Regions from separate parts of the Homo sapiens genome. Here all the other regions are linked to region 1. Evidence: promoter capture Hi-C in 16 types of primary human blood cells and fetal thymus (Javierre and others, 2016). All regions are on one chromosome and are shown on one strand. The core of a region is centred on a gene start or on the middle of the fragment in contact, and the rest is flanking DNA. Distances in the headings are between cores, read along the strand shown.

Evidence for each region. The method cuts DNA at HindIII sites, captures the fragments that hold promoters and counts their contacts. A CHiCAGO score of 5 or more calls a contact.
Region 2: a contact is called between a fragment that was not itself captured here and the fragment with the promoter of CCDC82 in region 1, in 1 of 17 cell types (erythroblasts). The highest score is 5.8, in erythroblasts.
Region 3: a fragment that was not itself captured here is called in contact with the fragment with the promoter of CCDC82 in region 1 in 2 of 17 cell types (neutrophils and fetal thymus); the score reaches 7.2 in neutrophils.
Region 4: a fragment that was not itself captured here is called in contact with the fragment with the promoter of CCDC82 in region 1 in 1 of 17 cell types (fetal thymus); the score reaches 5.3 in fetal thymus.
Region 5: a fragment that was not itself captured here is called in contact with the fragment with the promoter of CCDC82 in region 1 in 6 of 17 cell types (total B cells, naive B cells, monocytes and 3 more); the score reaches 12.4 in total B cells.
Region 6: a fragment that was not itself captured here is called in contact with the fragment with the promoter of CCDC82 in region 1 in 3 of 17 cell types (naive B cells, total B cells and erythroblasts); the score reaches 8.0 in naive B cells.
Region 7: a contact is called between a fragment that was not itself captured here and the fragment with the promoter of CCDC82 in region 1, in 4 of 17 cell types (erythroblasts, fetal thymus, non-activated CD4 T cells and 1 more). The highest score is 9.2, in erythroblasts.

Annotation. Positions count from the first base shown.
Region 1 is chr11:96,388,662-96,392,805 of GRCh38, forward strand. CCDC82 (coiled-coil domain containing 82) reads right to left here and starts at 1,251. Exons shown (of 10, transcript NM_024725.4): 1 at 1,183-1,251. It overlaps JRKL (JRK like), which reads left to right and starts at 1,352. Exons shown (of 2, transcript NM_001261833.2): 1 at 1,352-1,412; 2 at 1,822-4,144. The coding sequence starts at 1,989. The coding sequence ends at 3,563. RefSeq lists a silencer at 1,165-1,424. The HindIII fragment of the contact is 1,223 bases long and covers 809-2,031 here.
Region 2 is chr11:95,175,025-95,179,239 of GRCh38, forward strand. It overlaps SESN3 (sestrin 3), which reads right to left. Exons shown (of 10, transcript NM_144665.4): 7 at 3,686-3,804; 8 at 2,695-2,885; 9 at 474-618. Among named protein-coding and RNA genes, the nearest start is that of LNCRNA-IUR, 27 kb to the left of the region's middle. The HindIII fragment of the contact is 579 bases long and covers 1,669-2,247 here.
Region 3 is chr11:95,240,057-95,244,350 of GRCh38, forward strand. No RefSeq gene overlaps it. Among named protein-coding and RNA genes, the nearest start is that of SESN3, 11 kb to the left of the region's middle. The HindIII fragment of the contact is 8,404 bases long and covers 1-4,294 here.
Region 4 is chr11:95,222,613-95,226,591 of GRCh38, forward strand. All of the region lies in intron 1 of SESN3 (sestrin 3), which reads right to left. Among named protein-coding and RNA genes, the nearest start is that of SESN3, 6.6 kb to the right of the region's middle. The HindIII fragment of the contact is 304 bases long and covers 2,111-2,414 here.
Region 5 is chr11:95,092,147-95,096,236 of GRCh38, forward strand. All of the region lies in intron 1 of ENDOD1 (endonuclease domain containing 1), which reads left to right. Among named protein-coding and RNA genes, the nearest start is that of ENDOD1, 4.3 kb to the left of the region's middle. RefSeq lists an enhancer at 779-1,073 and a silencer at 779-1,073. The HindIII fragment of the contact is 2,475 bases long and covers 1,604-4,078 here.
Region 6 is chr11:95,137,919-95,141,935 of GRCh38, forward strand. No RefSeq gene overlaps it. Among named protein-coding and RNA genes, the nearest start is that of LNCRNA-IUR, 11 kb to the right of the region's middle. The HindIII fragment of the contact is 1,203 bases long and covers 1,181-2,383 here.
Region 7 is chr11:95,156,003-95,160,202 of GRCh38, forward strand. LNCRNA-IUR (lncRNA imatinib upregulated) reads left to right here. Exons shown (of 3, transcript NR_110303.1): 2 at 1,626-1,801; 3 at 2,607-3,146. Among named protein-coding and RNA genes, the nearest start is that of LNCRNA-IUR, 7.6 kb to the left of the region's middle. The HindIII fragment of the contact is 3,496 bases long and covers 904-4,200 here.

The DNA of each region.
Region 1 (4,144 bases), core at 1-2,500:
CTCAAGAAAAGATTCATTCTAGAAATCACCTACTTGCTGTATAAACAATGCAGGTGGTAGTTAACACTTTACAGATTTGAAAGGCAGTGGAACCCCAGGTCATTATTTGAAATTCTACCAGGAGGGATCCATTCTTGGGTGTAAAACATCACTCCTCTTCGATGTTTTCTTTTATATGGCAGTTTGGAGAGCAAAGATTAATAAGCCGAAAAATAATTATTGAATATCTACCAAAATGCAAGCACCTGCTAGGAACTGTGCTGCCACCATTTCAAATAAACATGGTCTCTGCTCCCAAGGAGCTCACAATCTGATGAAATTACTAGGGACACCAAAAACAAGCCAGCATAATACACGATTTGAGGGCTACAGTGTATGATTAAGATCAAGTTCTTATCACACTGCTATGAATAAATTTATCATAGTTCTTCTATTGGCAGGAAAACAAGACAGAACATGACAGAAATAGGATATAAGAAAATAAACATAAAGAGAGGAAAGCCTATTTCCCCCACTTAGAATCACAGTCCAACAGTCCACAATTTCGCAAAGTGGATCCTGCCAGCATGGTATCCGGGATAACTATATTATTCATTAAAATCCGTTAACAATGAAGGTTAATGCAGCAGGAATGAGTGGTAGACAGTGGAATAGATCCTCTCAGGAATTAACACCCGGAAGGGTGACTTTCATGATTACAAACCTCTTTGGCGGGACGCAGGAACCCAGCGCCCGCTAGCCCACTAGTCCGTCACTCTGCCTCCAGGAGGGAGGGGCACAGTAGCTAGGAAACCGGACCCTCAGGCCAAGCTTCGCGATGACGCGCGCAGGACGACGGAAACCCCCAGACCCCAAAAGAGCTCTGCACCGAGAAAACAATTACAAGGGTCTGGAAAGGCCAGAAACCCGAGAAATCACCAACCGAGCTCCCTACATCAGTTCCAAGCACCTCCCCAAGGCGGAAATAACGGGCACCGCGCCCACTGCAGCTCAGCTGAGGAGGGTTAGAGGCGCAAAGGGCTGAGGGGCGTTCTCCGGCCCACCCAAAGAGCGCCCGCGGGAATTTTTCTCTTAGTCCGCGAGGAGGCACGGCTTCCCCCGCCCCTCTCATAAACCATTAGCACCGGGAGCGCGAGCGAGTCCCAGCCGGGAGACAGCCCCGCACCGCCCTCGCGCTCTCACCTTTCAAAGCGCCTCCACCTCTGCCTCCGCCTCCGCCCCTGCCCCGGCAACCAGCTCAGGACAAGCGATGCTCCTCCCCCCCTTCCGGGGACCAAGGGAAGTCCCGCCTCTGGGTGGGGCGAGGGGTGGGGCCAGGCGGCGGGAGGGATCATCTTCCGGGAGCGTGGCTAGGGGCGGAGCGACTGCCGCGCGATAGTCAGGGAGCTGTGCGGGTCCTGGTTGCAAGAGAGGTGGGGAGAGGGGCCTGGCGGGTTTTGAGGGACTGGGAGGACTGTCCCGGCTAAAGCTGGCGCGGGAAACTGGGGCTGCGCGGCGGGAGGGCCCTGCTGCTGGGGAAGGAATCTAATATATCCGTTCCCCTGAGGAAGGGTGCCAGTCCTTGACTCCTAGGCTCTTCGGCTCTCTGTCGTAACTTTGGGGTGTGGCAGGGGTTAGTGACGCGCGGTTACCCGGGATCTGGACGTGCAGGAGGTTCGTGGCCACAATGGGGGTATAGTCTTTCTCACGGCTGCTGGGGTAATAAAACACATGCTTTTAATCCGGATTATCCGCGGTGACATGGGGCCTCCGCTACTGCCCGTATAAGTTAAAGAAAGGCCTGTTCTCTCAAACTTCCTCCTCTTTCACCTTCTTCTGCAGTCTATTTGCCAGCCAACCCCAGCCCGGGAGGGGATCAGGGCCACCAGGTTGCTGGTAAGGATGAAAGACTGAGTGTGTTAAGACTGTTGAAGTGAGCCTGTGTAAGAGAAGGAAGGATTTTGTGGATTGCTACATTGTGAGTGTGGGGTGAGTCCCAGAACCTCGCTATGTCAGGGAAACGGAAGCGTGTGGTGTTGACTATTAAAGATAAGCTTGATATAATAAAGAAACTTGAAGACGGAGGTTCTTCCAAACAACTGGCAGTGATTTATGGAATTGGTGAAACAACAGTTCGGGATATAAGAAAAAATAAGGAAAAGATTATAACTTATGCAAGCAGTTCTGATTCCACAAGTCTTTTGGCCAAGAGGAAATCTATGAAGCCATCCATGTATGAGGAATTGGACAGGGCAATGCTGGAATGGTTCAACCAGCAAAGAGCAAAAGGGAATCCCATATCTGGACCAATTTGTGCAAAAAGGGCAGAGTTCTTCTTTTATGCTTTGGGAATGGATGGTGATTTTAACCCCTCTGCCGGTTGGCTAACTCGTTTTAAGCAGCGGCACAGCATTAGAGAGATTAACATTAGAAATGAAAGATTAAATGGAGATGAGACTGCGGTGGAAGATTTTTGTAATAACTTTCGAGATTTTATTGAACGAGAGAATTTACAGCCTGAACAAATCTACAATGCAGATGAAACTGGACTCTTTTGGAAGTGCTTGCCTTCTAGGATTTCAGTAATCAAAGGTAAATGCACTGTCCCTGGGCACAAATCAATTGAAGAAAGAGTCACAATCATGTGTTGTGCCAATGCAACAGGTTTACACAAACTTAAACTTTGTGTTGTGGGGAAAGCAAAGAAACCTCGCTCCTTTAAATCAACTGACACCTTAAACCTGCCAGTCTCTTATTTCAGCCAAAAAGGTGCATGGATGGATCTTTCCATTTTCCGACAATGGTTTGATAAAATTTTTGTGCCGCAAGTTCGAGAGTATTTAAGATCTAAAGGCTTGCAGGAAAAGGCTGTGCTCTTGTTGGATAATTCACCAACACATCCAAATGAAAATGTCCTAAGGTCAGATGATGGCCAAATATTTGCTAAATATTTACCACCTAATGTGGCCTCATTGATTCAGCCTTCAGATCAGGGAGTCATAGCAACGATGAAGAGAAATTATCGTGCAGGTCTTCTCCAGAACAACTTGGAAGAAGGTAATGACCTGAAATCATTCTGGAAGAAGCTAACTCTGTTGGATGCACTTTATGAAATAGCAATGGCATGGAACTTAGTAAAACCAGTTACCATTAGCAGAGCATGGAAGAAGATTCTCCCTATGGTAGAGGAGAAAGAGAGCCTGGACTTTGATGTTGAAGATATTTCTGTGGCTACTGTGGCTGCCATTTTACAACACACCAAAGGATTGGAAAATGTGACTACTGAGAACCTTGAAAAATGGCTTGAAGTAGACAGTACTGAACCAGGCTATGAAGTGTTAACTGATAGCGAAATCATCAGAAGAGCACAAGGCCAGGCAGATGAATCCAGTGAAAATGAGGAGGAGGAAATAGAACTAATTCCAGAGAAACATATTAATCATGCAGCTGCCCTCCAGTGGACTGAAAATTTATTGGATTATCTAGAACAACAAGGTGATATGATTCTACCTGATAGACTGGTAATACGTAAACTTCGAGCCACCATCAGAAATAAACAGAAGATGACAAAGTCAAGTCAATAATGTCATTTCAATTTTATTGTTCTGCTCATTGTGTTTGTGACAAACTCTTTGCAATATGGCTTAATTTTCTTTGTGTTCTGAATTCTCAGACTTGGTCCTGTGAAATACAGGCACAAAATGTATCTGAAGTGGTTTGAGGATTATGTGTTTTCATCATCTGTGTCTTTTGTCCTTTTATTTGTACAGATAATCAGAAGATGATACTGAATAGATATAAATTACATGTACACATGTATTCACTTTTTAGAATCTGCAATTATACCTTCTGTAACAGTGGCATTCCCTTAATTTTCTAGTGAAAGTTAGAGATAACTGAACAGACTGAAGCACTTTTCTGAAATCTTTTGCTTGATTTATGAAGGCTGCCATAGTTATCTTTTCTTGTGTTAACCATCTTAAATGATGTTTTGTATATTTTAATAGACTGATAGGATGAGAAAGATTTATATTATTAGATTTCAGGATGATTTATAATAATTCAAAAATGAAATTCAATAATGGGGAAATAATTATGAATTATAGAAATTATGCCTTCATTCTCTTACATTTGTGTGGGTTGCAAGAGGGGGAGATTATTCTGG
Region 2 (4,215 bases), core at 708-3,207, 1.2 Mb before region 1:
CACATCCATTTCGAGATTCTTTAACCACTAAAGTTAACCTATTAAGACAACGGTTTCTGCTGGGCACAGTGGCTCCTGCCTGTAATCCCAGCACTTTGGGAAGCCGAGGTGGGCAGATCACCTGAGGTCAGGAGTTTGAGACCAGTCTGACTAACATGGTGAAACCCCACCTCTACTAAAAATACAAAAATTAGCCAGGCGTGGTGGCAGGCACCTGTAATCTCAGCTACTCGGGAGGGTGAGGCAGAAGAATCACTTGAACCCGGGAAGTGGAGGTTGCAGTGAGCTGAGATCGTGCCACTGCATTCCAGCCTGGCAAACAAACAAGCAAAAAAACCCCAGATAGCTAGATGATGCCACTTCCATGTCAATGGCTATAATTTATTAATACTTTCATGTGTCATTTTTCATAACTATTACTTCTTGTACTGAAGAACTGTCTATGGTATAATGCTTAATACTGAAACACGTACTTTTTCTGAGTGTTTGAACTGCCGCCAGTAACTATCATACATGCGTTTTGTAGTTCTCTCAGGATAGCAGGTCACTGTCTTAATGTAAACCTTCAGGCTTCTTTCAAGTAATTGATTAACTTCTCCATAATCATAGTCATCATACCTACGAGCAATACAACAATAGCTTTATAATGACAAAATCAAAATATTTAGTTTCCAAAGTTATACTAAGGACATTTATTGTCTAGTAATTAAATACTAAAAGCTCGTTAATTAATTGAATCAACAAATGTTTACTGAGTACCCATTATGTGCCATGAGTACTCAGTAGTAGTGATATACTAGTGAACAAAACAGACAAAAATCCTTGGTCTCATGGAGCTTAAATTTTGTTGAAGAAAAAACGAAGAAAAATTAAAAAGATAAACACATTGTAGTCAGATGGTGATAACTGCCATGGAGAGGAAATGGAACTTGGTCTGGGAGGAGAGGAGTTGTTATTTTAAATAGGGTGGGCAGGAAGGCTTCTCTGAAAGCCTTGATATTTGAACAAATACCAGATGGTGGTAAAGAAGCAAGTGTAAAGGACTTGAGGTAGGAGTCAAGTGTTTCAGGGAAGAGCAAGTAATCACTGAGTCCCATGCTGCCAAATAGTCAAATAAGATAACTGGGAACTGACCACTGGAAGTAGCTATATGGAGGTCACTAGCAACCTCGGTAAGAGCAGTTTTGTTGGTTGATAGGGACAAAAGCCTGATACTGTGAATAGGTTCAAGAGAGAATGGGAGATAAGAAAATAGTGACAGTAAATATACACAATTTTGTCAGAGATTTGCTTCGCACGAAAGCAGAAAATGAGGCAGTAGCCAGATGGAAATGAAAGGTGAAACTGAAATTTTCTTTAAAGATGGGAGAAATTAAGTGTGTTTCAATGCTGATGGGAAAGATCCAAAATGGGAGTAAAGCTGATTATGCTGGAGAGAGAAGGGAGCATTGCTAGAACTGAGATCTTTAGAAAATGAGAAATGGGATTTTGTGCATAAGTGTATAGGAACATAGACAGTAATGACAGCAGAGTAAATGGGCACAGATGTAGACAGGTAGGTAAATGTAGTATTGGGAACTTGTGGAATTTCTCTGTTACATTTTCAGTTAATTTTTAACCCATATAATGCTTAGTTTAATAAAAAGAGTATCTTGATGCATTTATGTAAGCTTTATTTTGTAGCATCCAACAGATATATTCACCACATTTGTTGCCTTGTATCCAATACATATTTATTGCATTTAAATTGAGTTTTATCGGTGTTTATTTTTCTTAAGTAGGTAGATATGATATATATGTGTTTTAAAATGTATTGATTCTTTGATAACATTGTCTAGCATGGTAAATGGACAAATAGCTCAGTTATTACATACAACCATAATCTATTACATGGAATATCGTGTTATTAGGCGATTTATCAGTAAATTTTGGGGTTCTTCAGCTAAAATTATAGAAAATACTTTGCTTAACCGATTAAATTCTAATTATCATAAAGTCTGTCTGATATATATCTATATAGTCAAGTTGAATAATTTGTAACTGGAAAGTTTTTCTGTCTGCTAATCTATTTCCATAAAAGCCTCAAAACCACAACTCAAAAAGGCACATTCTCCAAAAAGTGCTTTCTTGATTAGACTATTCAATCTCATGTACTTACTGTCCTCTCAATGCTAATTTTCTAAATTTAGAGGTCATTAATTTATATTGGCTGATATATTTAATTTCAGTGTTATGTGACCTTATGTAAGCTTATGAAGGCACAACCTAGTACAGTTTTGTTTATACCGTAATTACCATTCCTTAAAAAATAAGTTTTAAAAAGACCAAACTAACTAAACAAACCAGAATTTATTATAGTGATCTAAAGGGACACTACACCTGTTTTTTTAAAACTCACCTGTTCTTCCAGGAAGGATTCTCAAATTTGGTCTAATTCTATCCTATCCCCAATCATTACTGATGCTTTTTTCCCTCAGTAAATTTTTACCACTATATTTACATGTGCATCAATGTTAAGATTCATAACACTTAAAGAAAAATGCTTCTCCATAAAATGAAATTAATTTTTAAAATCAGAAGTCTACATGTAATATTTTCTTCCCAGAGTCATATACTCCCAAACAGGACAAAAATAAGACTCATGCTTGAATTTTCACTTAGAAATGTAAAAAACTGTCTCTACAATGAACATACCTGATTCCAAACATACAGTGAACATAGTTAAATAAAGCTCTGCGCAGCATGGTTGTGTCAACATCCTCATGGGTGGCCATAGTGTTATATGTGAGATTGTAGACCATCCGAAACTTTTCATCAAGAAGATGTCCAATGTCAGAATAAAGTCTGTTCACCAGGGAGAACCCATGATTTTCCCAGGTATAGTCCTAAAAGAATAAAATGTATTTAATTACAAAGTGGGCATTTTCCATCTAAATTCTATGTATTATTAAATATAACTAATGAAGCAAGTAAGCGAGGCTATTTCTAATTTAGCTCTAGGTTTTCAGCTTTACTAAGGCTTTACCAATAACCCTTCACATCAGTTAGTAGATCAGAGTGTCTGGATGTTTCTTCATGGGGTATGGGATTTGCCATGTTAGTGATGAACTCTGGTCATCTCCTACACTCAGGTACTACGCACACTATCCTTTTATCTGGAAGGGCCCCAGGAGATCTTGGAATATTCCCATGTGAACAAACCTACCCAGTGACATGGACAGTTAGCAGATCATCTAAAATAACCATGAATGAGTTTGTCATAATTCAATCTTATACCCTCTTTAGGAGTCATATCACTGCTGTGGCTATTTCCTAGGGGTGAATATTAGAGTAGCCCTTAAGCCCATGACTACTGGTATATGATTTTATTCCAAGAAAAAGTGATGTCACTTGTTTTCCTCTCTGTTCCCCCTCAAAAAAATGGTATAAACATTATGCAAATACCACGTAATAATAGAAGTAAGTGAATAAAGCAGACTGTTTCCTTTTGTCTTCTTAGGGAGAAAAATGTTGAAATAATTATCCATCTATTGGGAACTCCAATTAGATTAGGCTGAAACTAGGTTAAATACAAAGATTTATAGATTCTATCAAAAATTGTTTAGTGCCAATTTTTAAAATTTAAACACTTAACAGTTAAAATGACAGTATGTTCTAGTTTCTCTGAATTAAAGACATATTATACCTGAGCTCGGAATGTTGGCAAATGCTCTTCTCCTCGTCTGGCAAAGTCTTCATACCCAAAACCAGGGTCTTCAATATATCGAGAGACATCAGATGTTATAATCATGTCATCCTCAAAATCTAAGGACAATAATGAACAATCTAGTGTTAAGGATACTGTACGTGGTTATGACAATAAAACGGAACTCCATTTTCTTCCACTTTTTAGCTTTTCCATGGATTTCTAAAGTGAAAACATGGACTCCGTGACTTTATATAAAATATCTACTGCTAAAGTTTTAAATATAATTTCATTACCAAATACTGGCAATCTTACCATTTAACTAGTTTTCCTAACTGTTAGTTTGACTAACTGAAATATCTAAACAGTAGTAGCAAAGGATCAATATGCTAGTTTTACTAATTTAGGAATGGAAGATAGCATAGGCCTATAAGTATAAAGCTTAACCAGTTTTTTTTTTTTTGAGACAGAGTCTTGCTCTGTCGCCCTGGCTGGAGTGCAGTGGCGCGATCTTAGCTCACTGCAACCTC
Region 3 (4,294 bases), core at 528-3,027, 1.1 Mb before region 1:
TATAAATACCAGAGAACAATACAAAACAGTGTATGATGAAATCACCTCCTAATTCCATGTTCATTAATTCACTCATTCATGCGTTCAAGCACTCCATGTTTGTGGAGTGCTTACTATGTGCCAGCCACTTGACTAGTCGTGGAGATAGAGTGATGAACATAAGAGTTAGAATTTATAACCTAGCAGAGAAGATGGACTTTAAACAAATAATCCCAGTGTGTAATGAGTGTTATAGTAGGGAAAAACACAGGAAGGGAACACAAAGCAGGGTGATCAAACCTGGTCTATGTCTCCCCTGGTCTAGGCCTTCCCCGAGGAAGTGAAATGTTAACCCAAGAAGTGGTCTGCCTCCTGGTTTCCAACAGCAACTCCCAGAGACTCCCCTTAGTAGGTCCTTTCCCAGTGTTTCAGTTCCCCATTTTAATATAGTTCATGCTCCAATTGCAAAACTCCTATGTATCCTGGCTTTTTACATTGCAGTAGGCAAACTTCCATGAGGGGTGCAAATCTTCCTTTCTTTTCTGAGGGGCACTATCCCTATTAAAAATTCACCAAAATTTTAATCTATTTTTCCGAATTAAATAATATCACTTTATTATCTAACATTTAGCATTTCACACTTAGCCCCCACCCTGTTGATTTCCATTTGTATATGTGCAAGTGATATGTGTGCACAATTTCTAACAAGTACATCGATATTATCTGTCTTAAGACAGTAAAGTACTTGAAGATAACCATCATATTTCTAATCCATATTCTGTAATCCCCGTAACCTTCATGGTAGTGATGATAATCATCATAGATATGGTAATAGAAGCAACCACTATCATTTTCTGAGTACTTAGTATGTGCCAATAATTATTCAATAACCTACATAAATTATTTTGCCTAATACTTATAAAACGTCTATGAAGTAGCTATTATTATCTCTATTTAAATGTGATTTATAGGGACTGAAAATTTGGTCAAGGTCACACAAGGTAGAGCTCTGATTTGAACCCAGATCTGCTTGATGCCACCAGGATTTACAGTGTTATAAAATCATGCTTTGGCATTATTCAGTTAGTCATTTTTATAAATATTCTTTGAACTAATTATCTGTGTTAGGTTACCAAACAATAAGGTCCACTAGATTAAATCTCTCATACATTTACCAAATATAGCTCACTGGACACCTATTGAAATAAATGCTATGAGAATAGGCAAACACATACCCATTATTCTCTATTCTAGTATTTTATTACCCACTGGCATATTACGTGAAAAATATTTGGGTGATCTTTGGATAAGAAAACTACCTTTGTTGGCACCCAAGTCAAAATTCCAAATGTTCTGAGATATAAGTCTGAAGATTCCTAGGCACTTGGCTAGTCACGGAGATAAAGTGATGGACATGATGAAGATAAAGTTGATAAAATTAACAATTAAGGGTAGAGGAAGGAGGTGCTGTTGGTACTTTCACATGCTATATCAAGACAAGTACAGGTCTATTGCAATAAGCTGGGATTAGATTCTCTAGAAATAAGATGAATAAACTGGTTTCCACATAACCTGCCAGCAAATTCAAGATGTTCATATCAACCTGTCTTATCCACAGCCTCCTCTAAGTAAATCTTTCTGCTGGTGGCCTTATTCTAAATAATTATGCTCTGTACTATGTGAGTCAACCGAGGAATAGACGCTTGACTCAAAGACAGTCATTCCGTAACCTAGCCATCCATCTGTATGGACTAGCTCAAAATGATAATCTGAGCCAATCAGATTCCTTTCTTGGAGATTTGGCATCAGGAAACTATGATACTAAGCCAGTTGGCAGCAAAGTCAGATTGTAAGAGGATGTCATGAACCATATGCAAACTAAAACGAAGAAGGAACAGAACGGATAGGAAGTAAAGGGTGAGGAAGCTGGGAGGGGTAGGAGGAGGGGGCAAGGCACAGAAAGAAAGCAAAGAAGCTAAGACACTGGTATTTAGAGTTCCTTAAATCCTGGTGTGTTTCCACTTCCAGTCCTTGTGTATCTCTGTAATAATTTCCTTCACCGATCTAATCTCCTCCCACTGCTGATTTTGTGAAGTAACTTAATTCTGTTTCTTTCATCCAAAAGAGACTGACGGAAATAATCTTCCTTCATTTCCACGTCAAGCACTTATACATATGAAATATTACCCTTAGTTCTCATTAGTAAATGGATGTGAAAGTCAGGACATTCCAAAAGAAAGAACTAGAACTCACTCGGCCAGAAAACCCCCATTTCAGTTTTTACACAGAAAAATTCTTACAGTCTATGTTTCACTAAGAATGTCTGCTGTGCAAAACCCTCAAACTTTTTAGAACGTTTTTTTTGTTCCAAGTTAGAGAACGGCAATCAGTAATCTATTACCCAAAGTGCTTCTCCTTTCCAGGTTTCATGTTAGAGTGATTCTAATATGTGTGTGCTATCAACTGCCTACACAGAAAACTGAGAGACAAAGGCTTTCTCCTTTTCCACACATTATCCTTCATTCAGACTTAATGCCTGCAGGTCCGGTTTAATGATTTCCCAGAGTTTATGAACGAAAAAGAAAAACAAAGCAATAAAAACAAAAATCAAAGTTAAATTTCCTCAAAAGTTTTCAAGAAGGAAGTAGTCAGGACAAAAACAAAGGGAATGAGGGCACTTTGTCTCAGGATACAAATTAAAGATCACTGTGGTGGCCTCTGTGGGGTGGTTATAAAGGGGACCAGGTGTATACTAGGAAGTCATTTAGTTTTAGAAATGTAAATATGTGTAAATGTTTTAATTTTACTCAACTTGCCAGAGGTAGAATGTCCCTGGACAACTAACTGATACATTTCTTTAGGGCCAATCGCTGGCTTTAGAAGAGCCTCAGCTAATCACAGTAGAGCTGGACTGTTGTGGTTTTCCATTCCTTTGCATCGTATTCCTCAGTCTCTGCGGAAGGCACTGCTCCTTCCTTTCCTTTCTAAATCTCTCTCTGTCTCTCTCTCTCTCTCTCTCTCTCTCGCTCTCTCCTCCCCTAGTTTATCCTGGACTCATGCTGAGCTCAGCAACCCTTGAACTCATTTTCTATCTGACATGTGAAATAGTTCTTAGGTTTCATTAAACATTTGGAAAATAAACGAGGTACTTCGCTCTGCCACTTTTCAGGTATGGTGAAGAAAATAAAATGGCCTCCCTGGGCAGTACTAGATGGGTTGTGGTTGTGCTGGCCTTGCTCTTGATGAGATAGCACTACTGTTATTTCTGTATATACCAGACCTGTCACTTTGCATTTTCTATTTCTCAGTGAAGACATGAACATCTAGACATTCCACATGTCTATGGGGAACTAGAGTGTCCAGGAATGGAAGCAAATGGAAACATTCTCATTATGCAAGTGTAACTTTAGCTGTGACCTAAAATGTATTGCCTAAGACTTCTATAAGGGTGAAATTGAAAATTTTCCATTTTTTTTAACCTCAATATTGTATAATCTAGTCACTGTTCAAAAACTCCTCAAACTTCATTTTTCATTACTTCATAGGGTTTTTTTGTGAGGATTAAATTAAAAGACATATGTAAAGCACTGAGAACAGTGTCTCCCCTATCATTAGTACTCAGTAAATGTTAGCTATTTGTGTTATTTTTAAAAGATTTCATACAAAAATGTATTTTTAAACAGCAATCGAAATTTACTTGAATTTTAATGTTTTGGGTTCCCTAGTACCATTTACCAAGACAGTTTGTTTTGATTTAAAAGGGCCTCAAGTGCTTGATAACACTCAGGGTTTATCATTAAACATCTTTATTGCACTTGTGTTTGCAAAGTACATTTTTGTCTTCTGTTAGCTAGTCTATCCAGTCAGATTCTGAGAGAACTCAGTGTCAGTGATACTGTTGAATAATGAAGAAGCTAAGGTCATGGAGAAATTAAATGACACGAATGTATTCTTCATTCTAACCTCTCTCTAGATGAAGAAAGATGATTTCTAAAATTTGGCTTTACATGTGTATGAAGATGAGTGTATGTGTATACACACAAAAACACACACACGTATATATACCCTTATGTGTCCTGCTCCCAACAAATTCTCTTTTTTCTAAGCTAAAGATCATTCTTTAAGTTTTTAACTGAAAAATTACAGTTTGCCAGTTAATGAAAAGGAAATATTGTTCCCATTTAAGAGCTGGAACTCTGAGATCGAGTGCTTTGGAATACTTCTAGAGCTTTGTCTACTAGCCATAGGTAATGATTCCTACTTTCACTCTGCAGGAAGCAACTACCTGTTGTGATATGAACAAAATATAGAAGAT
Region 4 (3,979 bases), core at 1,013-3,512, 1.2 Mb before region 1:
AGGCAACCTAGTAGGAGAAAGGTTTATGTAATTGTTAATTATAATTCAGTATGCTAAGTGCAATAAATGCAGTGCAATTGAATATCATGGCAGTCCAGAGGATAGAAGGAGAAGGAAGAGTTGGAAGATTAGAAAAGGCTTTTTGGAAATGTCGTCAGACTTTTGAAGAACAGTCTTTCTTCAGATTTTTGAAAGACAAATAGGAATTCTATATGGTAACTACAGGTTTAGGTTATATAGGATATATATTTTAAATTGTTTAAATCACACAGGTTTAAGGAAACTGTTATGGGGACACATGACTAAACGTTTTGACTTGGTAGTGTATTTACTTTATATAGTGAATTCCACTTCCTCCCCGCCATCTGTACTCCTACCACAGTGATGTCTAAGGGACAAGTTAGATACAGCTAGTCACTTATAGGTCTCAGCAGATCTAATCAGACAGAGTAAATAGGCCCTTATGCTTATGCCTTCAAGACCACACTGAATGCAGGTAGTTGCTGGCTGTCATAGCTTTTGTGTATAGTGTACCACAATCCCCCCAACCCCACCCCCGCAAACCCACCACACACACACAATAGAAAGTCCACTATACCTTTGAGGATTTATTTAGGAACTCCCACATTCAAACAATGCTTGTTATCAGTACCCTGCATTAATAGTTCTGTCTCTTCTCTCTCTTTTCTTGTTCCTTCTGCTGCTGCTTCCCCCACACTTCTCAGCTTTCAAGCCAAACAGACTAACCTTGCTACTCAGGGTCCTTCTTTCCCTTGTAGCCAAGAACCAATCAATTTGGTATAATGGACATAATTTTTGGATTTGACCTTTCTTCAGCTGTTGCACAGTACTAAAGGAGAATATTCCTTCAAAGTGAAGGAACTTTGTTTTTTTCCCTCCCTGGTTTATATCAGAAAAAAGATGCTCATGAAAATTAGGGAAAGATCATTTCTAGTTAGCCAGTTACTGTGGTAATAGAGAAGCTTCTAGGATGTCACTGAAAAGGTGGTAGACAGCATCTGCAAGTGATACACACACCAAACAGAGGTAACTGAGTTGACTTTATCAATATTTTCTGTCAGTGGTATTAAGCTTTTTATTTTCCCCATAGAATTACACCATATACTGGCATCAGTAGTAACTCTGGCTCAGTAGTTCGTAAATGTCTTGGTCCTGGAACCCCTTCATAAATGTCTTGGTCCTGGAACCCCTTCGCACTCTTAAAAATTATTGGGGACCCCAAAGAGCCTTTGTTTATGTGTGGGTTATAACTGCCCATATTTACTGTATTAGAAATTAAACCCGAGAAAACTCTGAAATGTTTAATTCATTTAAAATAGTAATAAAATCTATTACAAAATAATATAAATCACATATTTTTTGGAATAATTGTATTTTCCAAAACATAAAAAGTGAGAAGAGTGACATTTACATTTTGCAAATCTCTTTAATGTCTATTTAATACAAGACAGCTGAATTTTCCCCAATCTGTTGTGATGTGTTTTGATTGAACTATGCGTGAAAAATCGAACCTGACATAGCTACATAGTTGGAAAAAGAAGATAAGTGTGAATATTTTTCTTTGATACCACACTAAAACTCAACAAGTATTCTTCTTAAAGGTTAATTGCAATGTATCTGAAATCATATCCATGACCTCAACAGTTTATATCATATTAAAATCCACTTGTACATTTTGCGGTTTAAATGGATTTTACCCATATATGATTCTGATAAACATTTCCTCAAAAATAAGCAAAATGATCCTGAAAACTAGAGGAAAACAACTGACAACAATCATTGTCAGTGATAAAAAGAATGGTCAGATCCAAAGATTACCTTGTCCATTATGCTCTAATTGGCTGCTCTTGGCTGAAAAGGAAAGAAAGACCCCAATTAATAATGTCTTTCTCTGTTGGTCAATTGAAAAATATTGGCTCAATGAGTTATGTAAATCTTTCAAATACTGACAAATTTTATTGCAGATTATCAAAAAGTTACATCCACTAATATCATACTTGATCTCAAGGGGACAGCCTTTAAGAACCAGGAAGCTTTAAGGCTACTGGTGACAGATACATATTTTCAAAAATTCTAATTTTTCCCTGAAAGCTTGAATTTTATCACTGGCAGCAAATAGTGTCAATTAGTTTCCTTGAATTTTCAGGGTCATACTACTCATTTATAAGATAATGTTTATCAAATGCCCAGGTCTGAGTAACCAAAGTTTGTCTGACAGGTGTTATTTCAAGTAAAAATGGGGTTACATGAAAAAAGTGGCTAGTTCAGCTTGCAACTAAAACAACTGCACAAGTTTTCTCCTTGAGCCAACCAGTTTGCTATGCAATGGATGCACTTTATACGCATTCCATTTTGTCATACGGGGTATTAAAAAGATGCACACAAAAAGGTCAAGCTTTAACAAAATTTAAATTTTCACTGCTTCTTCAAGGACATTCAGTGATATTGAAATTTTTTCCCCATTGTTCAATGTGCAGTGGTAAAGAACACAGTGATAACGGTTTGGTGCCACTAACCTGATTAATACTAAGGGGCTAGCATAGTTTTACCCCCACTGCTTTTGCTCTCAGTGAAGAAGGCAAATAAAGTCTTTGTATAATTATGAACACAGTTTTGACCTCTCAGGCCTTTTGAAAGGGTTTTGGACCCACAGGGATCCAAGGACCATACTTTGAGAACTGCTGCTTTATCTTATTAAGGAATTAGCCAAACAACTGTTAGAGAGATAAAAGTGACCAGCTTACTCTTCTCCTACTCCTTCAGTTAATCTACAATAGTATTTAAAGTATGGCTAACTTTCATGTTTCCAACCAATATTACCTGGAGAATCTTCGGTATCTTTGGGCATTCCACAGATGGTGAAGCTGGGAGTAGGGATATTCCCTAGCAGCCTCAATATTGCAGAGGACAATTAGAAACAGCTTATTACAAAGGCAGTATTAAGAATTAAATGGATTTCTTTGTTATTAGTTGTATGACTGAGACCAGGCCACTTAAATCTTCTCAGTTTGTGAGAATCAACTGAAATAATGTGAAAGCACCCTAAAAACTGTGAAGGTCAATACACACTTAAGTTATTATAATCCAAATATTTCAAAGGAAGAAAATGAAAAGGCTGAAGAGATGGGGAGAAAAGGTTAAAAGACTTTTACTTCCATCTCTTCTCCTAAACTAATTAAAAATTTTTGCTTTACCCTAGATTTACCACCCCCCCTTTTATTAAGCACAATTTTCCTTAACTCTTAGTCTTTTCAAACTAAATACCAATTCCCCTTATTTGCTGAAGTGTCAAGGAGGCAATTTAATTATTCGAGAATCAAAAGTCAATGCCTTGCTATTTAAGTGCAGGGGTGGGAAAGGGGCAGGGAATACAGACAGAAATATGGAAATCAAAAATAAGTAAAAAAAAAAAAAAAAGTCATTCTGACTAAAAGCATAATCTTTACCTCTCATTTACAGGCAATAATTAAACAGGACAGAAAAGTGAGTATTAACCAAATTACTCAGTATGTATTGAAATATATTCCCATAAGACGGAAAGAACTAACATAGTCTGGGAAAATGGAAAAATATATGGACTTGTCCTTTTCTTTCTTACACGGTTTATAAAGTTCATTAACACACATCTATCTCTCTCCAACTATACAGCAATCTGTAAGGCAAGTAAAAATTATCAACATTTTACAGAGAAAACTCTGCTTTGAAATCAAAAGATCTGTTAAAGACCTAACTGCAACCACATCTGTGGCTTCCAGTATCACTACATTAGTAGTTATGTTTTCTATTTATTTAGGGTGGGGAGTTGGGGGAAGCAGCAGAACACTTTTTACAAATTAAATCTTCTATTGAACCTGAACTATAAAGCATATAAATATACCAAGCAACTTTCAAGTATTTTAGTAATAAAGTTACAACTACTGATAACAATAAATTTGTGTTCTCACAAGTAAACATTTAA
Region 5 (4,090 bases), core at 1,591-4,090, 1.3 Mb before region 1:
GGAGGAGGACATTTCAAGCAGAGGGAACAAACATCATGAGTGAGAAAGGCATGGCAGATTCAGGGATTTGTGCGTGAAGAAGTTGGAACAGGTAAACTAATACAAATAGATGAATGCACTCAATTGCTCAGAATAAAAAGGAATCATGGAAGGGAGGGATCAGGTGGGGAGGAGCCACCAAGGAAGGCTTAGGGAGGCAGAGCCATTTATGCAGCTAGGGAAGGAGTGAGTCGTAAAGGAGCATAGTTTGACAGAAAGAAGTACAGGGAACCAGGTAACATGGAGACCCTGGGTGAGATAATGAGGAAGGGGACTGTGGAGATTAAAGAAGATGGGAAGGGAGGGTGGAAATAGTTACAAATGGCAGCTTGAGAGGTAAGATGTACAGCGGTTCTGAAGAGTACAAGGGGCCTGAGTTCCTGCTGTGCTGAGAGGTCAGAATGGTCACTGTGGCTGAGCACTGCAGGATGCTTTTCCCTGCAAGGTGGCTGGCCTCCCACATCCACCCGCTCGACCTCAAGTCAAGTCAGCCAGGATCCAGAGAGTATTGGGAGAGAGGGAGGGAGGAGGAGGTGTGAGGTGCAGCTGGGCCTGGAGTGCACTGCAGCAAACCTGCCCCCACTGTTGCCTGCTCCCTGAGGCCCTGCCTCCCAGCCAAGATCCCCACTGCAGAAAGATGCTCAGGGCTCAATGTGTACCCTTGGCGGCTTCCAAGCATTTTATAATGCTGAGTCTCCTTGTACCCACATCACCTTTTTATGAGGTCAGTGTTACCAAGAGGACCCGCACACAGGGGAGGAAGAGGCAGGAGACCAAAGGAACTCAGTGCTTGCCTCCAGTGATGAGTCAGGCAGGGCAGCAGTGACACTGAATTCCCAAAGCCCAGTTCGGCAGCTTTTGAGTCCACACTGCAGTTTCCCTTTGAAAAGAATCTCCTAAGTCAAAGATCACAGAAACTTAGTCACTCTTGTGCTGAAAATCTGTAAAGTGTTGCCTGCCCAGCCCCTACAGGACAAAGTTCACACTGCAGAATGCAGTTTACAGGCTCTCCATAGCCTAGCTCCTGTCTCCAGCTCCAATCTAGTTTCTCACCATGCTCCACCCTCATATTTTATGTTCTAGCATTATCCAGCTGCCTGGAGTTCCTCTCATAAACCAGACTGTTTGTGATGTCTGTTTCTTAGCTCATGCTGATTCCCTTTGCCCAAATTCCCTTTCTACACAGACCCCATCTTATCCTTCACTTCCTGCCCTTACTCCATCCTTTAAGACTCTGCTGAGGTGTCACCTCCTCCAGAAAGAATTCCCCACCTGAACTGTATCCACCTCCCAAGTTAGGTTCACCCCTTCAGTGCTCTTATAGTTTTTCTATTTTCATACTTACCATGTTGTTTTGTAATTATCTGCTTATGTATCTGTCTCCCCAACTTGAGCCCTTGAGGAATGATGATTGCATCTTACTCATTCTTTTCCTAGTGCCCAGCTTATAGAAAGCACGCGATAAGTGTTGAATAAAATAATTTGATGTTGGGAGGATCAATCAGGCAGGAGCAGGTGAGATGTTCTGCTTCAGTTTTCTCAGTGGGGCGCTTCCTGTTTCAGAAGCTTGCACCAGGGCTGGCCAGCAGCAACTGTTACAAACATGCTCCCTATGCAGAGCTGGAACCCTGCTCTGCAGCCACTCCATCAGTCTTAGCTTTGGCCTTTGAAACTATCCCAAATGATTTTGATCTCTGCTCTGCCTACAGGAGATGGTTTGGAGGAGTTCTAGTCAAGACTCCAGAAACCTGAGAACTGGATTCTGGTTTAGTGCAGGAAGCCTCAAACCTTTTAGTTTGTTGACTCCTTTCCACTTAATGGAAGAATTTTTAGATAAGATGCCAATGATACCTTTCTAAAGTGCATTGCTGATTTATGCCAGAAGCCAACATATAAAGCTCTATCATTTTATAAACATGGAAGGAACTGAATATATAAATTATATAATTAATATATTATACATATTAATTATATAATATATAATTTATATATTCAGTAACAATAGTGTATATTTGTTCAATCTTAAAAAATACTGTGAGGTAGATATTATCTTCATTGTAGAAAGGAGGAAACTGGCTAAGGGAGGTTAACTGAGGTGTTTTAGGGTCACACAGCTTATTTTTGAACTCATTACTGATTACTCTTCTGATACACTGTGGAGATTCTTTGATCTCACAATGGATCCACTGCGCTAATGGTCTTAGGACTCTAATTTTCATCTTTTATGTGAGAATTCTAATTTCTACTCCACTTCTATTTTCTGACAGTCATAGGACAAGTGGGAGCACTTACTTGGCTGCATAAAGGTTGCTCAAGTGTCACTTTACTCTGGAATGAAGGGGATATTCTGGTTAACTGCAAAAACATTTTCCTGGAGGGCACAGTGAGGTCTTACTTCAGATCTTAGTAAATGCAAATGGTTGTTTCAAGTTAGAACCTTGATTAAGTCCTTGATTTTTAATTTCCATCCATGGCTTATACAACCTGAAACAGAAATACTGTTCAATTTGTTCCAACCTCAGCCTTCTTTTCATTGTGTCAGAGAACAGATATATAGAGCATCATACACTTAAATCTCTGTGTAAGGAATGCAGTGAACAGGACAATCCTGATTCTTACTCCTTAATTAAGAGACTTAATTCAGATCCCTGCTCTTCCATTTACAAGCTATGTGACTTCCAGCCCCATTTTTTGGATCTGTTCATTAAAGGTTGTAAAAGTGTTTATAGAGAGGTTGTGACAAATAAACAAGATAACACATGAGAGCATGTGGCATGGTACCTGGAATATGGTAAACTCTTAGTAAATATTAATATGTATATAAGGTGTTACTTCAGTAGGTGCTAGGCGTGTGCACGCACACACACACACACACACACACACACAAATGGAATGTTGGATTAGATAGGTGACATCTACAATTCTGCAAATCTCTCCTAAAAAGTAAAATATCTATCCATGTATCTTCTCAAATGCTTGGTGTATGTCCCACATTCATACAGTAGCTGCTTCATAAATGCATGATGAGAGATGAAATGTGTGGAAGATTGAATGAATGGATGGAGGGTGGATTTGAGTGATTAAAAGCAAAAACAAACCAAACAGGTACCAAAGACATCTCCACCCTCTCTGTCCTGGAAAACCAAGAAGTGTGTTGTCAGAAAACAGTGAGCAATGGCATTCCAGTCTATTGTGCTGAGACTGGATAAGACTGGGAAGTGCCTGACCCAGGGGATGGTTCCAACCTTTGTTGAATTTTTCCCTTCTGGCTTTTTCTTCATCTTTGGATTTAGTGTTTCCTTTTGTTTTGCAGGCCATTCTCAGGATCAAGTTAAGGTATTTACCTGCGTTGGCAGAATATTTCAGGGACATCTGTCCTGAAGCAGTCCAGTGGTGACAATTCCCTATACTATTCTTTCAGTTTAGACTTATATCTGGACAATCTAGGCAAGGAACTATCATTTATTGATCCCTTACCATGTCAAAGGTCTTCACATTCTAACTCATCTCATCTCTATAACAACTCTAGGTATTATGACTTGTGTTTTATAGTTTAGGAAACTGAGGTTCGGAGTAGTTAAGTAACTTATCCAAGGTCAAACAGCTTCTAGATGGCAAAACCTGGACAGGAGTTTATGACTGCCCAAATCCAAAGCTCTTAACTCTCTTTATTCTCTATCACACTATTTTCTAACTAAAATGTTAGTTTTTTCTCTCCAGAATCCAAACTGGCTGACTAGACTTGTTATTTTATTTTTAATCCAGTTCTTTGGATGGTTTATGGTTTCACTACTAACATACCATTCTGTATGTAAATGCCAGCTTCAGATTTCTTTTAGCTCCGTTACTGGTGATTCATGGTGATTGAATGGAGCTTTCCTTAGGGAATTGAGATTTTATTCTTTGGGCATAAAATTTCTCTTCCTTTTAAACTCTCATCTCTGAAAGTGAAAATTTTAGAAAGTAAATCCTCTTATTTGCCAGTAGCATTTGTTTTCAGTTATCTGGTCTATCTTCTAGAATTACTGTTAGTCAAGAAAGCTTTTTTTTT
Region 6 (4,017 bases), core at 532-3,031, 1.3 Mb before region 1:
AATCCTTGAGTCAATCACTGTGGCTGAGTGAGTGCAATAAGATGATTGACCCAGACTGGATTATGGATCCATATGATGGTGTTGGTAGTTCTCATAGGAAGGACAGAGGAGAGGAAGCAAGATAGACATCCGCAGTAGTCCCTCATAGACTGACTTACAGCTTTATTTAAGACGTATAATGATGCCCTTTCAATTTATTAGGTGGCTTTTAACTTGCAAAGCTCTTTCATGTTTATCAGTGGACTGCATCAGAACCACAGATGTGTTTGGTTTCTCTTAAAAACAGAAGCTATGGCCAGCATTTCCTCAAGGCCATAACAAGCTACAGCTGAGTAGACAGGGCCAGCATCCTACAGTTTGTCATAGTCTCCATGGTGTCTCTATTGCCTCTCTGACCTGATCCACTTTGCTCATTTAACTTACTTACCTGGCTCCTGTAGCCTTTTGGGTTTGCTGATCCCCGATGTGATCTCACGTCATTCACATCTATTCTGTGAACACTGATTATTCCCATTTTATTTTAAACCAAGATTCAGAGATTCAACTGACTTTCCTATGGTCACACAATTAGAAGGTGAGACCCAGAACCTAGATTTTAGAGATGAAGGCTGTTCAGTCCCCTGCACACGGTTGTAAGTTATGCAGAGGTTTCATATCTGCTATGTGAAGGGAGCCCTCTAGGGTTGTGTAGTCAATACTATATGTGGAAGCCCTGAGGCTATTTTCCCTTCCATTTCACCATAGTCATAATACTGTCACAAAGTTAGTTGAAATAATGCACTTCCTTCAAAATTTATTGTAGAACAAGTACTCGTGACTAAGTAAAATGATAAATGATCAGATTGGAACAAATAATTCAGTTAATTATATCACTAAGTCTTACCAGAGACAATAGTAAAACTTGTCTGACTTATGCAAATAATATAGTTAGGTCTGCAGTGGAGAACTCGCTCTGTAATGTCCACAACTATTTTAGGAGTGATTTTACTGTCTTGAAATTTTTCTTGCTATACAAATAACCTTAATCTCCCAGTTTCCGTGTGATTAAAATGAGAGGTTTGCACTCAGTTTTCTAGTGAGACAATGATGCTTAATCCTGATTGCACGTTAGAATTGCCGGGGAGGTTTTATTGATTTTTTTAACTAATGTTAGGGTCCCATCTCTAGTGGTTTTAAAATAAGCTTCAATAAAGAAGATATACAAATAGCAAAAAGTACATGAAAAGATGCTCAACCCCATTAGTCATTACAGAAATTCAACTTAAAATCACAATGAGATCAACTGTACTCACTATATAGTATAAAGTAGACCCATGCAAGGATGGCGAGGATGTGCAGCAACGGAGCTCTCATTTAATATTAGTGGAAATGTAAAGTGGCACAACCACTTTGGAAAGCTGTTTAGAAGTATCTTAAAATGATAAACTTACGTCCACCATATGATTCAGGCTTTCCACTCCTAGGTATTGATCCAAGAGAAAAGACAACATACATCAATACAAAGACATACCATGCAATGTGCATGTTCGGAGCAACTTTATTTGTAACAGTCCACAACCGGGAAAAAAAAAACCAAATGTCCAGCATCAGTTGAATAAACTATGGTATAACCATAAATGAATGCTATTTACCAATAAAAAGGAACTGACATATATAACCACATGGGTAAATCTCAAAAAAATTATGCTGAGTTAAAGAAGCCAGACGAAAGACAACATATGATATGATTCCATTTGTAAAAAATTCTAGAAATGTAAATTAATCTATAGTGACAAAAAGCAGATCTGTTTTCTTGGTGATGGGATGGGGAAGTAGGGGAAAGATTACAAAGGGCATGAGGAAACTTTATGAGATATTGTATATGTTCATTATCTTGATTATAGTGAAGAGTCAGGATGTATATTTATGTCACTGTGCATCAAATTGATTGTTAAATATGTGCAGTTTATTGTATATCAATTATACCTCAATACAACTGTAAACAACAATACTGATGCCTAGCTCTCAGTCACAAAGATTCTGATTTAATTGGTTTAGGTGGGGCCTTGGCATCTGTAAATATTAAAAACATCACCTATGATTCTATTGTACAGCCAGGGTTGGTTCTGTGATTTTAGATCATTATAACTGCCCTGGGCCAGGTAGTTTGGGAGAAACCTCCCGCACTTTTTAACTAGAGCAAAAGGGGATCACCCACACAAGAGCTGCTGCTCATGCATGCAAAGTGCTCCAGTCAATCACCTCAGTGTTCAAGGCTCAGACCTGGCCTCTAGAAGATGGAGCTACTTGGCCTTTCACAGAGCATGAGCCCCCTCCATCCCTGCCATCTATCCATCTACTCCAGCTGGCTTAATGCCCTCTTGAGACTCCATTTTCCCTTCAAAGCTTCCTCTGGTGAGCATGTCAATGATATGTAAACTATATAAAGATGTCAGTGTGTATGTGTAGAAATAGTGTGACTTGCTCCAGGCAGACATCTCCTAATAACACCTGTCGGTATACCTTGGGCAGGATAAGACACTGACATCAGCTGCTTAAAGGCAGCAAACTGCAGATCCCGAATCCTGAAATGTGGAGGAGAAATGCTCCCCACTCTGGTGGTCCCAGTGATGGCAGCAAAACTTGACCAATAGGGGGCTGCCCCTTTTGGTAAATGGTCTTTCTACTCCACCCTGAGACACAGCGAGAAAGATCTTGTTACAAATTCTACTCCACTTCTTAGTAAGTTAAGCTAGTCACTTAAGCTCGTTTTCCCTTTATTTCCTCACTTCTAAAATAGAGATAACATAATCTTCCTTGTTTACCATAACAGGGTTATTGTGGGGATCAAATGAGAAAATGAATGTGATCATGCCCTATAAACACAAAGGCATTATTATGTACCATGATTATCCTAGTGTTTTATAGAAGGGAGCAGTAAAGGCATAGACTCACTTGGTGGGAAACTGGATGAGCCTCCTGGAGTCTGAGTGGGTGTGAGGAATGACATCATTGCAGTCTCCAGAAACTGGACTTGCTGTTTCCATGACTTGAGTAATATCATAATCATGATGATAAGGATATCTACAAAGAATTGTACACTTAGGTCTAGACACTGTAATAAATTGTACATCTATTTTTTTCTGAGCTTACAGAGGAGGGCACTGAGGCTTAGAGAGGTTAACTACCTTGTCCAGAGTCACACAGCCAGTAACTGGACTTGGGTCTTGACATACCAAAGTCCTGCTCCAGAACCCACAGCAATAACCAAATGAGCCTTCTCCTACAAGGGAATGACTCTCAGCTCAGTATTTTAATAAATGACTTAGGTGCTTTTTGCAGGTATTCTCAATCTCAAAGCAGGCAAAGCTCTGCTAGGAGACAGGTGCTTTGTTCTAGAATTTTCTGTGCTATCTGAATATGACAGAGGGTGTTTATGATTGAGTTTTCCATGCAGATGTTTTTCCTTAGCTTCTAAAAACAAACCTAGTGAAATAAGAGTAGGGTTATCAGGTAGGTTGCAGAACCTAGGGTGATCTGCCTTGTAGAGTTTGTGGTTAATATTCATTTGTTGAACCTTCATGCCCACCAGCCTGTATATTAGGCACAAAGAGTAGACCAAAAACATAGTCATGTACCTGCTACTACAGTGCTTGTACCAAATGCCTACATACTGTGGCTGGGGAGGTTAGAAGACTGATAAGCAAATAATATGGTAGACAAAGAACTAATGTCCTTAATATATACATAGAGCTCACAAAAATGCCTAAGAAGAATGCTTTCACCATTGTGTTGTTGTTATATAAAGTCACAGTTTATCTTTTTGAAGAGAATGAGTTTATAGAAAGGCAGATTAGGAATGCAATCTTTCCCATGTGACATCCTTTCTTTATATGTATTTTTATTGTCAGAAAAATAATTTCATGGGCAAAGGGTTTCAAAATATGAGTTCTCATTTTGAGAAGGGAAAATGCGAAGTTGCTACAAAAAAACTTATCTTTAAGAAAGAATTCAGATTTATAAATGCATTCAGCCACT
Region 7 (4,200 bases), core at 1,402-3,901, 1.2 Mb before region 1:
CCTGTTACCTGAAGGACAGGGGCCTCAATCTCGAATTTTTACAGGTAGGTAACATAAACATACAAATTAAGTGACTGGGTAAGTGGAGCCTGAAGCTAAATTCAAAATTGAGGAGCAAATGTTCCCTGACCCCAGACATTCCAGTTCAGACTTTAAACATATATAATCAACTCCAATAAAAGCAAAAAAGAAACACACACACACACACACACACACACACTCACACTCACACATCCATAGCCATCAGTGAGTCTGGCTTCTAATCTGAAACCTGGGCTAAACCAAACCACTTGGCCTGGAATTGGAGGCCCCTGATTGGCCTTTCTGCCCTTCACTCTCACCACTCTCCACCATGGGCCCTCCCATCTCTCCTCCACCAGCTCATCATGGATGGCCTCCCTAACCCATAGCCGTCTTCTTACCATGCCAGTCTCACAGGCCACTCAAGTCCACAGTGATCTTTCCCTTTCCATGGTCAATTTTGGCTCCTCTCTGTCCCAGGGACACGTTTAGCGGTCACATCATTTTTCTCTCCAACACCCGAAAGGGAATACAGGAAGTGACTTTGAGAGGCCCTTACCATATGCCAAGTCCCCTAAAAAGATCTTTGCTTATTTTTGTTCCCTCTCTCCTTAGTGAGATGGTGAAGTACTCAAGGGTAACAACCCTGTCTCATACGATTCCAAATGGTATATTGAGCTTTGCTATAACATCCATGCTCAATATATACTTTCTTACTGACAGGTCCAAGAGTGTACAAACTCATGAACTCAATGACCGCAGACTGGAAGTAAAATCACAAACCAGTGCTTCCCCCACCCCCACCCTTCCTTGGTACACCCCTGTCACCTCCCAATTCTGGCTTCAAGCATTTTTCAAGTCTGAGGCTTTAGCCCAAATTTAAGCTTTGGCTTAAATAACGTCTATTTTTTTTTTTTCCAGAGCTGATAAGAACTTACATTTAAAAGATGGTTCTTTTTTTGGTCTCAGTCCTGCTGGGTAGTTGTGCCTTGTTAGAAAATTATCCATAGCACTTTCAAAGTCCTCCTCATGAGCATGTTGAACTGAGCCAGACTTGGAGCTTTGAATGGAATGCCATTTAATCTTGGCAAAGGTCCACCTTTTGTTTCTAAGGAGGGAAAAAGCCTAAGGAACATGGGTGACTTAGGGACCGTTTGCACTTAGACCTGATCTGCTGGGGAAAGGTTCGGAATCCTGGAAATACACAAATTAGACACTGAGCTGGGAAAAAGAAAGAGACAAGCACTGGCCAGGCAACCTTCAGTTTTGCTAACGCCAAAGATTTTAAAAATATCATCCCCTTCTTAGGATTCCTTGGCCTGCCTAGCTATGTTCTGGCTGAGATGTGCTGAGCCGGGCTGGGCTGCCGGCTCCGGGACTGGTTTGTAGCCAGCTGTGCCTTCAAAGAGCTCTCTCTTCAAGACTTCCTCCAACTCTAGATTCCACAACTGCCTCCAGGAGCTGCTGGGCCAGGGAGGGCCCTTCTGGAAGCCTGGTTGCCTTTTGAATTCTGTTTTTACTCTTTTTTTTCTTTATAAACAGATTCTCTTCATTTCAGTGGGAAAAGGTGTCGTGACAGATCCATGTCTCTATTTTACCCTTAGGCCTCAAACTTCTTCATGGGAAAAGATGGCTTCTCTTTTTTAATTGAATGAACTAGAAGAAGTTCATTGTTATTCATCAACTTCAAAGAGACTATATGAGGCCCCTTGGCCAGGACTACAGAGCAGTATTTTTTAATCAGAAATTATAGCCAAAAAGAAGAGACCAGAACACATGGGTGAGTGTTACTGAATTATTGGTTTTCCTTAAATAGTCTAGTTTTGGTGTGTGAGAGGAAGAAAGTTGCAAGTGCTTATGTGCCAGGTACTGTGCTAGGATCTGAGGATGCAGAAATGAAGAAAATGCAATCCCTGGCCCTCCCACCTGTTGGGGGAAGTGGACTTCGCACCCTGTGGATAAGGAGTACACAGTGTAGCACTGTGGTTAGAAGCACCAGCTCTGTCATCACAGGGCTTGGCTTGTTTCCTGGCTCTGCTGTGGGCTGTGTGGCATTGGGCAAGTTACTTAGCTTCTCTGTGCATTATGTTTTGCATCCTAAAAATGGGGTTAGTGATAAAATCTGTGTTATATGGTTCCTGTGGGGATTTAGTGAGTTAAAATAGTTAAAGTACTTAAGCTCAGTGCTTAGCACTTTGAGTGTTTATTACTATCGTTGAGAAGATGTAGAGGAAGTATATGGGCATAGAGAGCAAGGTGCAGCTGACTGCTTAGGTGAGGCAGGGGATGCTTCAAAGAGGAGGTGACATTTGCTTTGCACTCTGAAAGATGAGTGGGAGTTCAGTAGACGAGGGTGGTGTGAGGGAACCCAGGCAGTGGGAAGCGTGGTCGGGGCAGAGAGAAGGTGATGGCTGGAAGCAGTAGCAGAAAGGCCAGTGTGGCTGCAGCCTGGGACTCTCATGTGGCTTGGGGGAAGGGAGTAAAATCACAGGCTGAGTCTGGAAAGGTGAGTTCAGGCTAGACTGAGAAAGGCTTTAAACTCCGTGTCATTAATTCATTCATATAACTCTATTATCCCCATAAAGATGAAGAAGGAAGGCATTAAAGATTATGTAATTTGCTGGGTGTGGTGGCTGACGCCTGTAATCCCAGCACTTTGGGAGGCAGAGGCTGGCGGATCACTTGAGGTCAGGAGTTCGAGACCAGCCTGGACAACATGGCAAAAACCTGTCTTTACTAAAAATACAAAAATTAGCCAGATGTGGTGGTGGGCGCCTGTAATCCCAGCTACTTGGGAGGCTGAGGCATGAGAATCGCTTGAACTCGGGAGGCAGATGTTGCAGTGAGCAGAGATGGCGCCACTGCACTCCTCCCTGGGCGACAAAGCAAGACTCCGTCTCAACATCACTGAACCAGTAGGGGGCAGAGCTGGAAGTTGAGCCTAGGTGTGTCTGACTCCACAGCCTACGCCCCGAACCTTGACTTTGTGCTTTCTCACAATGCCTATGGCTGCTGCTTTAAAACAGCACTTTCCATTTGCCTTGTTAAATGGGATTGTATATGAATTATACTTCACTGTTTATTTCTAGAGAAATAAAAGAATCTAATAAAGGAATCTGACACGGACCTTGGGTGAATAAATATACCCTTAGGCTGGAGTGTATTTCAGATAGCTTGGTTAGGGAACTTGCGTGGTATCCCCAAGGCTCAGGCCCTGAGAAGGCATGGCCACCTGATACCCTGGTTCCTTTAGCACAAAATCCTCATGATAACCTCAGTTCGCATTTCTTTGAAATCTGCTTGGCAGAGCTGTGGGATACCTGAAACTCTCTGGGTCATTTTGCTTTGATCAAGGGCTTTGCTGTTATAGGGGCAGTCTCAGATCAGGTGGTGGAGGTCATCAGGCCTTGGCGAAAAGCCCAAACATCTTCCAATGGGACCAGGCCCTGTGATAGCATCTTTCCAACCCATTAATGGTCAGCTGGGCTTTTTTGTTGTGTGTCCATTCTGAAGTTCCTCACTCCCTTCTTTTCAGAGACACTCACTGCTCAAGGACACTTATTCTTTAGGTTCCAGGCACCTCCTGGGAAGTAACTGGGGAGAGAAGAACAGGGCTACAGTGGGAAAGCAGACCACAGGTGCCAGGCAATTTCCTTTCTCCAAACACTTCCCTGGGGACAGCTGCCACTCATAAGCATCCTAATGCAGATCCACAAAGAACTCTTCCCTGCCCCACAATTCATTTTTTTTTTTTTTAGACAGTCTTGTTCTGTCACCCAGGCTGGAGTACAGTGGTGCAATCTTGGCTCATTGCAACCTCCACCTCCCAGGTTCCAGAGATTCTCCTGCCTCAGCCTCCTGTGTAGCTTGGATTACAGGTATGCACCACCACGCCTGGCTAATTTTTGTATTTTTAGTAGAGACAGGGTTTCACCATGTTGGTCAGGCTGGTCTCAAACTCCTGACCTCAGGTGATCCACCCACCTCGGCCTCCCAAAGTGCTGGGATTACAGGCATGAGCCACTGTGCCCAGCCCACAATTCATTCTTATTCTCTGTCTTTCCCTTTATAATGCTGACTACAATTTGTAGTTTTATAATTTCGTGGTTTTCTTGCTTACTATCCACCTTCTCACTCCCCTGACTGTGAGCTCCATATGGCAGGGGCCACATCCATTTT